Regions from separate parts of the Homo sapiens genome. Here region 2 is linked to region 1. The links are contacts of gene promoters, found by promoter capture Hi-C in blood cells and fetal thymus (Javierre and others, 2016). All regions are on one chromosome and are shown on one strand. The core of a region is centred on a gene start or on the middle of the fragment in contact, and the rest is flanking DNA. Distances in the headings are between cores, read along the strand shown. Region 1 holds the start of ZNF235 (zinc finger protein 235). Region 2 holds the start of ZNF230 (zinc finger protein 230).

Evidence for each region. The method cuts DNA at HindIII sites, captures the fragments that hold promoters and counts their contacts. A CHiCAGO score of 5 or more calls a contact.
Region 2: a contact is called between a fragment that was not itself captured here and the fragment with the promoter of ZNF235 in region 1, in 13 of 17 cell types (monocytes, non-activated CD4 T cells, naive CD4 T cells and 10 more). The highest score is 11.1, in monocytes.

What each region holds. Positions count from the first base shown.
Region 1 is chr19:44,302,917-44,307,343 of GRCh38, forward strand. ZNF235 (zinc finger protein 235) reads right to left here and starts at 2,109. Exons shown (of 5, transcript NM_004234.4): 1 at 2,055-2,109; 2 at 474-536. The coding sequence starts at 488. RefSeq lists enhancers at 1,892-2,445, 3,022-3,523, 3,524-4,023. The HindIII fragment of the contact is 5,796 bases long and covers 1,676-4,427 here.
Region 2 is chr19:44,000,871-44,005,841 of GRCh38, forward strand. It overlaps ZNF230 (zinc finger protein 230), which reads left to right and starts at 2,087. Exons shown (of 5, transcript NM_006300.4): 1 at 2,087-2,237. ZNF230-DT (ZNF230 divergent transcript) reads right to left here and starts at 2,000. Exons shown (of 3, transcript NR_110727.1): 1 at 1,395-2,000. RefSeq lists an enhancer at 1,850-2,359. The HindIII fragment of the contact is 1,145 bases long and covers 2,281-3,425 here.

The DNA.
Region 1 (4,427 bases), core at 859-3,358:
TATATTTGTATGTATTTATATATACATATTTGTATATATAAATATATACGTATATATGTATATATTTATATATAAATATATACATATATACGTATATATTTATATAAAATATACGTATATATTGTATACATTTATATAAAATATACGTATATATTTGTATATATAATACATATATACAAATATACGTATATTTCTTATAAATATATACATATATATTTGTATATAAATATAAAATATATACGTATATATAAATATATAATTATATAGAAATATATTTTAGAAATTAACAGATATATATATATCTCTCTGTTAATTTTTATACTATTATATTGAAATAAAAGGCAACAACCTGGCATATAACAACATTCCAAGTGCCTTTCGTTCCCTTTTACTGTTCCCAAACAGGAAAAATGTGTCCAATCTTTGTGAAATGAGATGTCATTTTAAGAAACACAAAGGCAAACCAAACTTACCTGGAACTTGGTCATTTTTCCCCTCCTCCTTCTGGGAAAAGGCAGAGTTCCGGGGAAGTGAACCTGAGGGAGGGAAAGGCATCATGAGATAGGTTAGGGATGGCATTAGTCACCATGGCACTTTTATGTGACACTTCAGAGAAAGGTCCCCCTGTCTCTAGGCAGACACAGTTGCACACGGCTTAGTGAGGAGAACGGGAGCTAGCTCCCAGCTACCCCTCGGCCCCCTCAACCAGCTGCTTTTGTTCATGAACATTTCATATTAACAGACCTAAATCAAATACAGCTCTCTGTGTACTCCTTCTGAACTTTAGTTTCCAAGGAAATGAGACACAGACAGGCAGGGGAATGTAACAGAGCCAAAATGCCTGGCTTCAAATTTTGGCATTTCTACCTATTTTCAACTGATCAGCAGTATAAACCTTAAGCGAATTATTAATCTCTCTGTGCCTTAATTCAGTTACCTGTGAATGGGGACAATAATAATGCCTGTATTCTCTATTTCCTGCAGCTTCTGACAAGCAAGTGCTATTATGCTTCATAAAACTGCCCTTTTGAGTATGCTTTCTAGAAAATGAATCTTTTAAGAAACCCAGAACTCAAAAATAATTGCTCTGTCCTGTGAGTTACCATTACCCTCAGAAAAGTCTGTAACTGTGATTGGTTGTCTAACATAATTAGTTCCGTTGGTAATGATAGTTAAACTGCCACAGGTTTTTTTTTCCTCCAACAGATGTAATTACTTGCAAATGTTACTAAGCTGGAGGAGCCTCAAGAAAGTCTCTTTTTCCACATGCATGAAAGCAATGACTAATAAAAACCTAAAACTCTCTAAGAAATGGTGTTACACTTAAGTTAACCACACGGGATTATTGGTTATAACCACATTATACTGAACATTTATTAGGGCCTCAGGACACCTCTGGCACTCTGCAAATCCGTAATGACGATCGCTTATCTGAGATAAAACACACAGGACATTCCCCAGGCTCCGCTGGAACTAATTCCTGTCTCCTAAACAAGAGGCTAGAAAAGTCCAAGAATCCAGGAACGGCCCCACATCAGGCAAGGATTAGAGAAGGGACAGCGGCTCCGTAGCTGGATCTCCTAGACTCAGAGGAGTTTCCAAACAACAGGCGTCTTTTTCAGTATTATAACAGAATTAACGGTGGCATCCAACATTTTCCTATGCACTGGTTTTAAGCTTATTTCTATAAAACCTCATTTAATTCTCACAAGAACATCACTGGGAACGCACTAACCCTTTACAGGCACGAGGAAACTGAGACAAGGAGAGATTAAGTAACTTGCCCAATATTTTACTGCGAGGAGCAGGCAGGACTGGCTGGTAGGTGCGTGAGGACGGCTAGGGCAGCAGACCCTCAACCTCGAAGGACGACGCGAGCCCGCCTCCCACGCAAGAGGTTCTGCCGAGGGGACGCAAACTCCCGCAGCCTCCCAACCCCGCCCTCCAGCGCTGGCCGCGGCTTCTCTTCCCCAAGCCAAGGACGGGTTCATTGCTGGCCCCACGCCTAGGCAAAGAGGGCTCGGAGAAGTCTTGGAGACCCGGAGCTGACTCACCTCCCTGGGAGATATCTCAGATCCGACCTCGCCTTCCTGGAGCGGAAGTGCCTCCGAGTGCCCACGGTTCGTGGACTCCACTTCCCAGAATTCCTAAGCGGAAGCGTCTCAGAGTTCTCTCACTCCTGGACTACAGTTCCCAGAATGCTCCAAGGGCAGCGCTTCCCACCAGCTGGGCTTTGTTTTGACTCAAGCCGGTTGGGTTTGAGCCACTTCTCTGGTGCTACTACTGTGAGATTCGTTTTTGTTTTATTCATTTTTAAAAGCTCATGAGAAAATAATTGTAAAATTTTTAAAGTGATGACATATAAAAATGAAAAGTGCAGCTTGTATTATTAAAATAAGTTAGAAACCAAAATTTTTCGCAGAAGCAGAGGGTAGGCTAAAATGGGAAGCGTAAAAGTGACTTAGGCTGAGCTCCGATGGACGCTGAACGTTAAGGAACACCAGATCTCAAACTTGTGTCAAATGCCGGCTCCCCAAATATCATCAACTCAACCTGTTGATAAGACAAAAAACAGAATTTATTGTTGATTGCAGTAATGGAGAACAACACTTCGACGGAGCGTTGGCACCTTCACAGAGCAAAGTGTCAAGGCAAGGTTGGAACTGATTGAGAACTGGATGTTTAAGGCGGGTCTTTCAATGCAAGGGATTTTATTAGTATTGCATAATGATCATGATACTACAGTCCAGGATTGGTGGATATAGCAAGGATTTTTGAAGCAAAGAATCTTAAATTGCAATCTATTGACACTTTCTTTGGAAGAGATTGAAAATTTGATGGGTCTCTGTGGAAGTTCCCATAATGAACAATTAAACAGTTTGCTTGGGCAGGAATCTCCTGGAATAAAGGCCTGCTGATGAAGACAGCTGAACAATCATGTTAGTGCCGAAAGTAAATTGTGATGAAACGGGAAAAGTTCACTTCTCCCTCTCCCAGGGCATGTGATGGGGTGTGGCTCGCTTCTTCGTGCCCAGCCGCTCAAACCTCTAGGGGAGCATGCACACGGGCAGGTTGTAGGGCTCCAACCCCACGGCAGTGTCTAGGGGTGAATGTTTACAGCTCCTGAAGCCCCAGTGGGCGTGTGTTATAGGGTGCTTTTTTAGTTCAGCCATCTGTAGGAGGCTTGTGTTAGCTCAATTAGACCCCTGACTTATCGCAAGCAAGAGAGGGCTTTCTGTATCCCAGAGGTTCTTGCCTTGGTGTACCAGAAGAATCGCATCACACATAGGCTTGGAGAAAGAGTGCAAGGATTGGAGAAACCTTGGAGAACGATTTGTAAGTAGCTCTCAGCAGAAGGGGGAGCCAGAAGGGAGATGGTTTTCGCCTGGAGTCAGCCTCTCAGCGGCCTGGGCGCTCCTCCGACTACCCAGGCCAAACTGCGTTATTCCACCGGTTAATGGCCTGCTGGCCTGCCGGTCTCTTCAGTGTGCTCTTTTGCCGACCCGCTCCCCTCGACAGCCTCTCGACAGCCAGCTGTTTGTGTGTCCGCCAATGCTCTCCTCTCAACGTCCAGCAGCTTGTGTCTCTGCCTGCTAGGGTATCAGGGTTTTTATAGGCACAGGATGGGGGCGTGGTGGGCCAGGGTGGTCTTGGGAAATGCAATATTTGGGCACAAAGGCAGGAATGCCTGTCCTCACCTAGGTCCGTGGCCACAGGCCTGGGGGTAGAGCCCTAGTCAGGGACCACACCCTTCTCCCCTCCAGCACTTCCATTCCCCTCTTCCGTATCAGTGAGGGGCAGGGAAAGAGGATGGAGTTTTAGTCCTTAGTGTCCAAGTTGTGTATATTTAGGGGTCGGTGACAAGGAGAGAAGGGAGTAAAGTGTTTGACTCTTTTCCCTCCATTATTCCTCAAGGTACCTAAGGGCTCATGACAGTGTTTTGTTTAATGTGCTATTCGTTCTAATATACTAAGAACCCACAAAAAGGCAATATAAATATTAAGCCAGAGAAATATCTTGAACTTCATTTATTTTAAATGTGTACTGTTATGGCAAACAAAAGCAGCTCCATTGGCCGGGAATCTAAGACAACGTTGTAATATGGGCATGTGTAAAATCTTGAATTGTTTTCTAATTTGTGTTCGGCTTCAAATATTTCATTACATACTTTGATCCTGATCCTGACATAAATGAAATTAAGTGTCTTATGGTTGAATAAACTAGATGAAACAAAGAAGCCGTGATTTTTCTCCTAGGCAGGTATAAATATACAGGTGACCATTGAAAAACACAAGGGTTAGGGGAGCTGACCCCTGGGCAGTTGAAAAATCTACCTGTAAGTTTTGACTCCCCCAAAACTTAACTTACTTAACTACCAATAACCTGTTGACCAGAAGCCTTACCAATAACATAAACAATTAACATAT
Region 2 (4,971 bases), core at 1,603-4,102, 300 kb before region 1:
AGCCAGTTATCCCAGCAGCACTTATTGAATAGGGAGTCCTTTCCCTGTTGTTTTTGTCAGTGTCATCAATGGCATGGTTTGGATGTGTCCCCACCCAAATCTCAGCTTGAATTGTATCTCCCAGAATTCCCACATGTGGGAGGGACACCACAGAAAGTCAGAATTATTAATTAAAAGGGAAACAGAACTAAGAATTTTAAAAATTCACAGCCTATCTACTTTGGAAAAAAAAATTAGAAAACCTGTTCTGGATAAAACAACGGTAGAGATAAGCAACTGATTTAGGAGATTAGTTTGGATTGGTCATGTCAACAGAAGCCAGGACCTGCTGTCCATTAACACTGGAAGAATGACCCCAAAGGCATCTAGGAGATCATAGAGGCTGCTCCTCCCAACACAGACCCAGAGTGCACGGACCTGGGAAGCAGAAGGGACCTTTGATGCCAAGTGCCCCTAACCTTTTAGGCTCAGTTCCCTGCATGCTACGATTGAGTGTGTCAATACATCTTATCTTTCGGGAAGGCAGAGTAGATCAAGGATACAGCTATAACTGGCATATGAATAGTGATCACTCAATTTTCAGAGAGCGGATGTTTGGCATCAAAAGTTTGGCACAGTCACCTTATTTTTGTGTCTAAACAAAATTTTGAAAAGTTTTTAGTTTAGAAAAATAGGTAAACAGTAGACTCCATTTTTTTTAAAAAGAAGAATATTGGTTTATAGGCCAATGTATGTTTATAGGGAGAAAAAAAGTTACCTTCAAAAGAGCAGGTTTTTAGATGAATTGTTTCCTAATTTAGCTTTATACTGTTATTATTTTTTAACCAATGCCAGTTTTTAAATTGCTAACTATAATAAAGAAATTATGTTTCACCAAGAAATAAGAAGAAACTTAAAAAAAAAAATCTTTAATTATTGAGGTATCTGTTGCCTAGGCTGGAGGGCAGTGGTGGCATCATAGCTCACTGCAGCCTCAATCAAACTCCTGGGCTTCAGCAATCCTCCCACCTCAGCCTCCTGAGTACTTGGAACTTGTAGTCCCAAGATCAGGCCACCATGCCTGGCCAGTTAAAAAAAAATTTTTATAGAGACGAAGTCTCCCTGTATTTCCCTGTCTGGTCTCCAATTCCTGAGCTCAAGGGAACGTCCTGCCCTGGCCTCCCAAAGGGTTGGCATTACAGGTTTGAGCCACTGCGCTTGGCCAGGAAGAAAACTCTTTATAAGACATGCTCCTTCACCTATAGAATCCTCCCGTTTTACTGCATTTACAATCTCAATGTAAGATTGATACCAATGCCTAGCTCTTCATCAGTCATTATTGCTCTGAGGTACTGAGCAATTCACTACATTCGCTGAAATTTGATGTTTCTACATCTAAGGAGAAATATGAATACCATGAAAAGTTTATGGGAAGATAGCTATTCCATGACGACACCGCTTCTCCACTAGTAGCTGTGATCTTAAATGGGGGTGGCTTTTCCTGCCAAACCAGTGGTCCCACAGCTTCTGGAGTAGGGGCTGGTGTCTTCCTGCTCCTCATTGCCCCTGCCAAACCATTCCACCTGGCTCATCCTTTAAACCGTTAGTTTTAACCTCCCATCGTCAGATTATCCTAATCCTTGAAGATTTTATCTCCTCGTTTGTTCTCTTCCCAATAACACTCCTGTCATCGTGGGAGGCGTTTAGACTTCAGGAATTCCTGTCTATACACTATTTTCGCTCAAAGACTCAGGAAGAGAGACGGACGACTCACAGGGTCACAGTCCACATTCCCCACCAGGCGCTCAGAGATATGGAATACGTTCCCGGTGGGCACTGCGGTGTGTGTAGTCAAGGACCACCGCGGAGTCCAACGCTTCCCGCTGAAGAGTGAGATTATAGACATTTTCCTTTGGCATTGGAGGAAGCGGAGTCCAGACACACTCTGAGTCGCGGGCAAGTTGGCTCAGGCGGGTGGACGAGTGAATTCTGGGAACTGTAGTCCATCAACTTCATGGAATGGCGGACCCTTTGGCTCAAGCAGTTGAACCGGGGAATTCTGGGAAGTGGAGTCCAGACGCTCTGTGGAGACGCGAGCACTTCCGGTGTGTGAGCCTGCGGTTGCTACATAACCGCGTAGTTTGAGCCATTTCTGCGTCTGGCGGGTCCTTCTGAACTTGTCACCTTCGCTTGGGGTCGCAACGACCCGATGATCGATGATCCAAGCAAGGGAAAAGAAGCCTTGGCGGAGAGCGGAGGTTTGGTGGGGGCGGGGAATGGGGTTTTTTTCCCGTCCACGGAAGCTTTCTGGGATGGGGGTGCTGTGCTCGCATCCCGGGGGTTGGAATTGGCGGGGTCCTCTGTGCCCTGCTGTGAGCGTTTCCAGGACTTTGACCTCGCTCAGCCTGCCTCTCTCCACCCTACCTGTGCGACCGCTTTCTCGCAGTGTGACGTGGAGTGTTACTCAATGTCCTTATACTTTCCATTGCTGTTTTTGGTAATGGGGACATTAGAACCATCCTAGTAGAATCGTTTTTGGGAACTGAAAGAGATAACGCAAATGAGAACCTTAAAGCAGTCCCTGTCACTTGGTGACTGGTGGTCTCTTGTTAACTTCCCGAAGAGGTCAGGTCCCCGGGTGGAGTCATAGCTTCAGCTGCAGGGGCCCTGGTCCTTCTCCCTAATCCCTGCAGGACGCTGGATGATCCCGGGAGGCCTTCTGACCTCTTTTTAGGAAAGCGAGTTGCGTCCGCTTCCACGAAGGGCGGGGAGCATTTAACTTTTATGGGGGACCGCGATGCAGTCAGGGTATTTCACAACTTTCGCCTTCCCCAGCCTGACCTTTCTAAAAGAGCTGCAGGGAGGGGACTTCTTGGCTACTGAGGGCAAATCTCTATGTGATTGGTCCTTGGCTTTTTTCCTTTATAGAGATGTTCACCCAACCGAGAGTGTGTCCTCGGGAATGGGTGTTGATAATCATTAAGCCGTAATTGGTAACTTCATTCTAAGTGCTTTATACAAATAAATTTAGGCCACACTGTGGCTCTGTGAAGTATTGCTTTTCTTTGTTTTAAAAATGAGAGTGAGACACAGGGTGCATAGCAGCCAACTAGTGAGAGGTAGAGCTGGGGTTGGCACCTAGGCAGTCCAGGTCAGAGCCTGAGTTGATCACCTCTTGGATACATTCTCATTGAGGCAGAGGAACTAGCTGGACTCGTAGGGAAAGCAAGTTAGGACCTGATTGAAAGGACGTTGAGAGCAAGGCTCGTGGGCTTGGACGTCTAGGAATTTTTAAAAATTTCTCAACTATTTTGTTTCATGTTTTCCAAGTATTTCGTACTGTTGTGGAACTGTATCATTGTGGAAAAGTCTGAAATAGGAGAAATGAGAGTAGAAAAAGTTTTTTAATTACCCATGTATCCAAGATGTAAAGGTAGTAACTGTTAAGCTTCTAATTGATTTCTTTTGTCTTTCTTTGTGTCTACTTCTATATTTGTTGATAAACATTTTTTTAAAAATTGTTATATTTTAATGTGTTTTCCCATATGTCTTTTAACTATAGAAAATTTTAAATATTGCTAATAGAGACTAAACTAGTGAGGCTGGTTGTGGTGGCTCATGCCTATAATCCCAGCACTTTGGGAGGCCAAGGCAGGTGGATCACTTGAGGTCAGTAGTTTGAGACCAGCCTGGCCAACATGGTGAAACCCCATCTCTACCAAAAATACAAATATTAGCCGGGCGTGATGGCACGTGCCTGTAGTCCCAGCTACTCTAGAGGCTGAGGCAGGAGAATTGCTTAAACCCGGGAGGTGGAGGTTGCAGTGAGCCAAGATCACGCCACTGCACTCCAGCCTGGGCAACAGAGTGAGACTCAAAAAAAAAAAAAAAAAAAAGAATAAACTAGTGAACTGCCATATTATATAATGCTCAATTTTATTATTCCCATTATCCTTATGACTATTTCCTGATATCTAAAATATTTTTGCTGGGCGCGGTGGCTCACGCCTGTAATCCCAGCACTTTGGGAGGCCGAGGCGGGTGGATCACGAGGTCAGGAGATCGAGACCATCCTGGCCAACATGGTGAAACCCCATCTCTACTAAAAAAAAAAATACAAAAAATTAGCTGGGCATGGTGGCAGGCAGTTGTGGTCCCAGCTACTCCAGAGGCTGAGGCAGGAGAAAGGCGTGAGCCCGGGAGGCGGAGCTTGCAGTGAGCGAGATCGCGCCACTGCACTCCAGCCTGGGCTAGGGAGCGAGACTCTGTCTCAAAAAAAAAAAAATTAAAAACTAAAAACAAAATAAAATATTTTCATCTTTATATCATTTAAAAGCTATAGAAAAGTTGCAAAAATAGTATAAGGAGTTCTCATACTCTATCCAAATTTGCCAATTGTTTACATTTTTCCTGGTTGCTTTGTTGATGACCATCAGCCAAATACCACCAGGAACATAACTAACCAGAGACAGCTGATTATGGCTTTCTGCAGCAAGGAAGCCCACATACCATGGTAAATGTGGGGTGTGTTGGTAAGAGGTATTTAAGAAGGGATGGTATAGGGTTTCACATAACATGCTAGATAATATTAGATATTAAATAATATTGTTATCTATTACATATCAGATCTGTTAAAAGACTACTAGTAGTTGTAGTGTTACTCATTAGATAGTGTTGAATAGCATATTACCTAACATCCTGTTATCTAATCTGTAGTTACATATTTAAATTTGTTCAGTTTTTCATTTAAAGTCCTATGCCAGGCACAGTGGCTCATGCCTGTAATCCCAGCATTTTGGGAGGCAACGGCGGGTGGATCTCCTGAGGTCAGGAGTTCGAGACCAGCCTGGCCAACATGGTGACACCTTGTCTCTACTAAAAATATTTTTAAAAGCCGGGTGTGGTGGCATGCTCCTGTAATCCCTGCTACTTGGGAGGCTAAGGCAAGAGAATCACCTGAACCCAGCAGGCGGAGGTTGCAGTGAGCTGAGA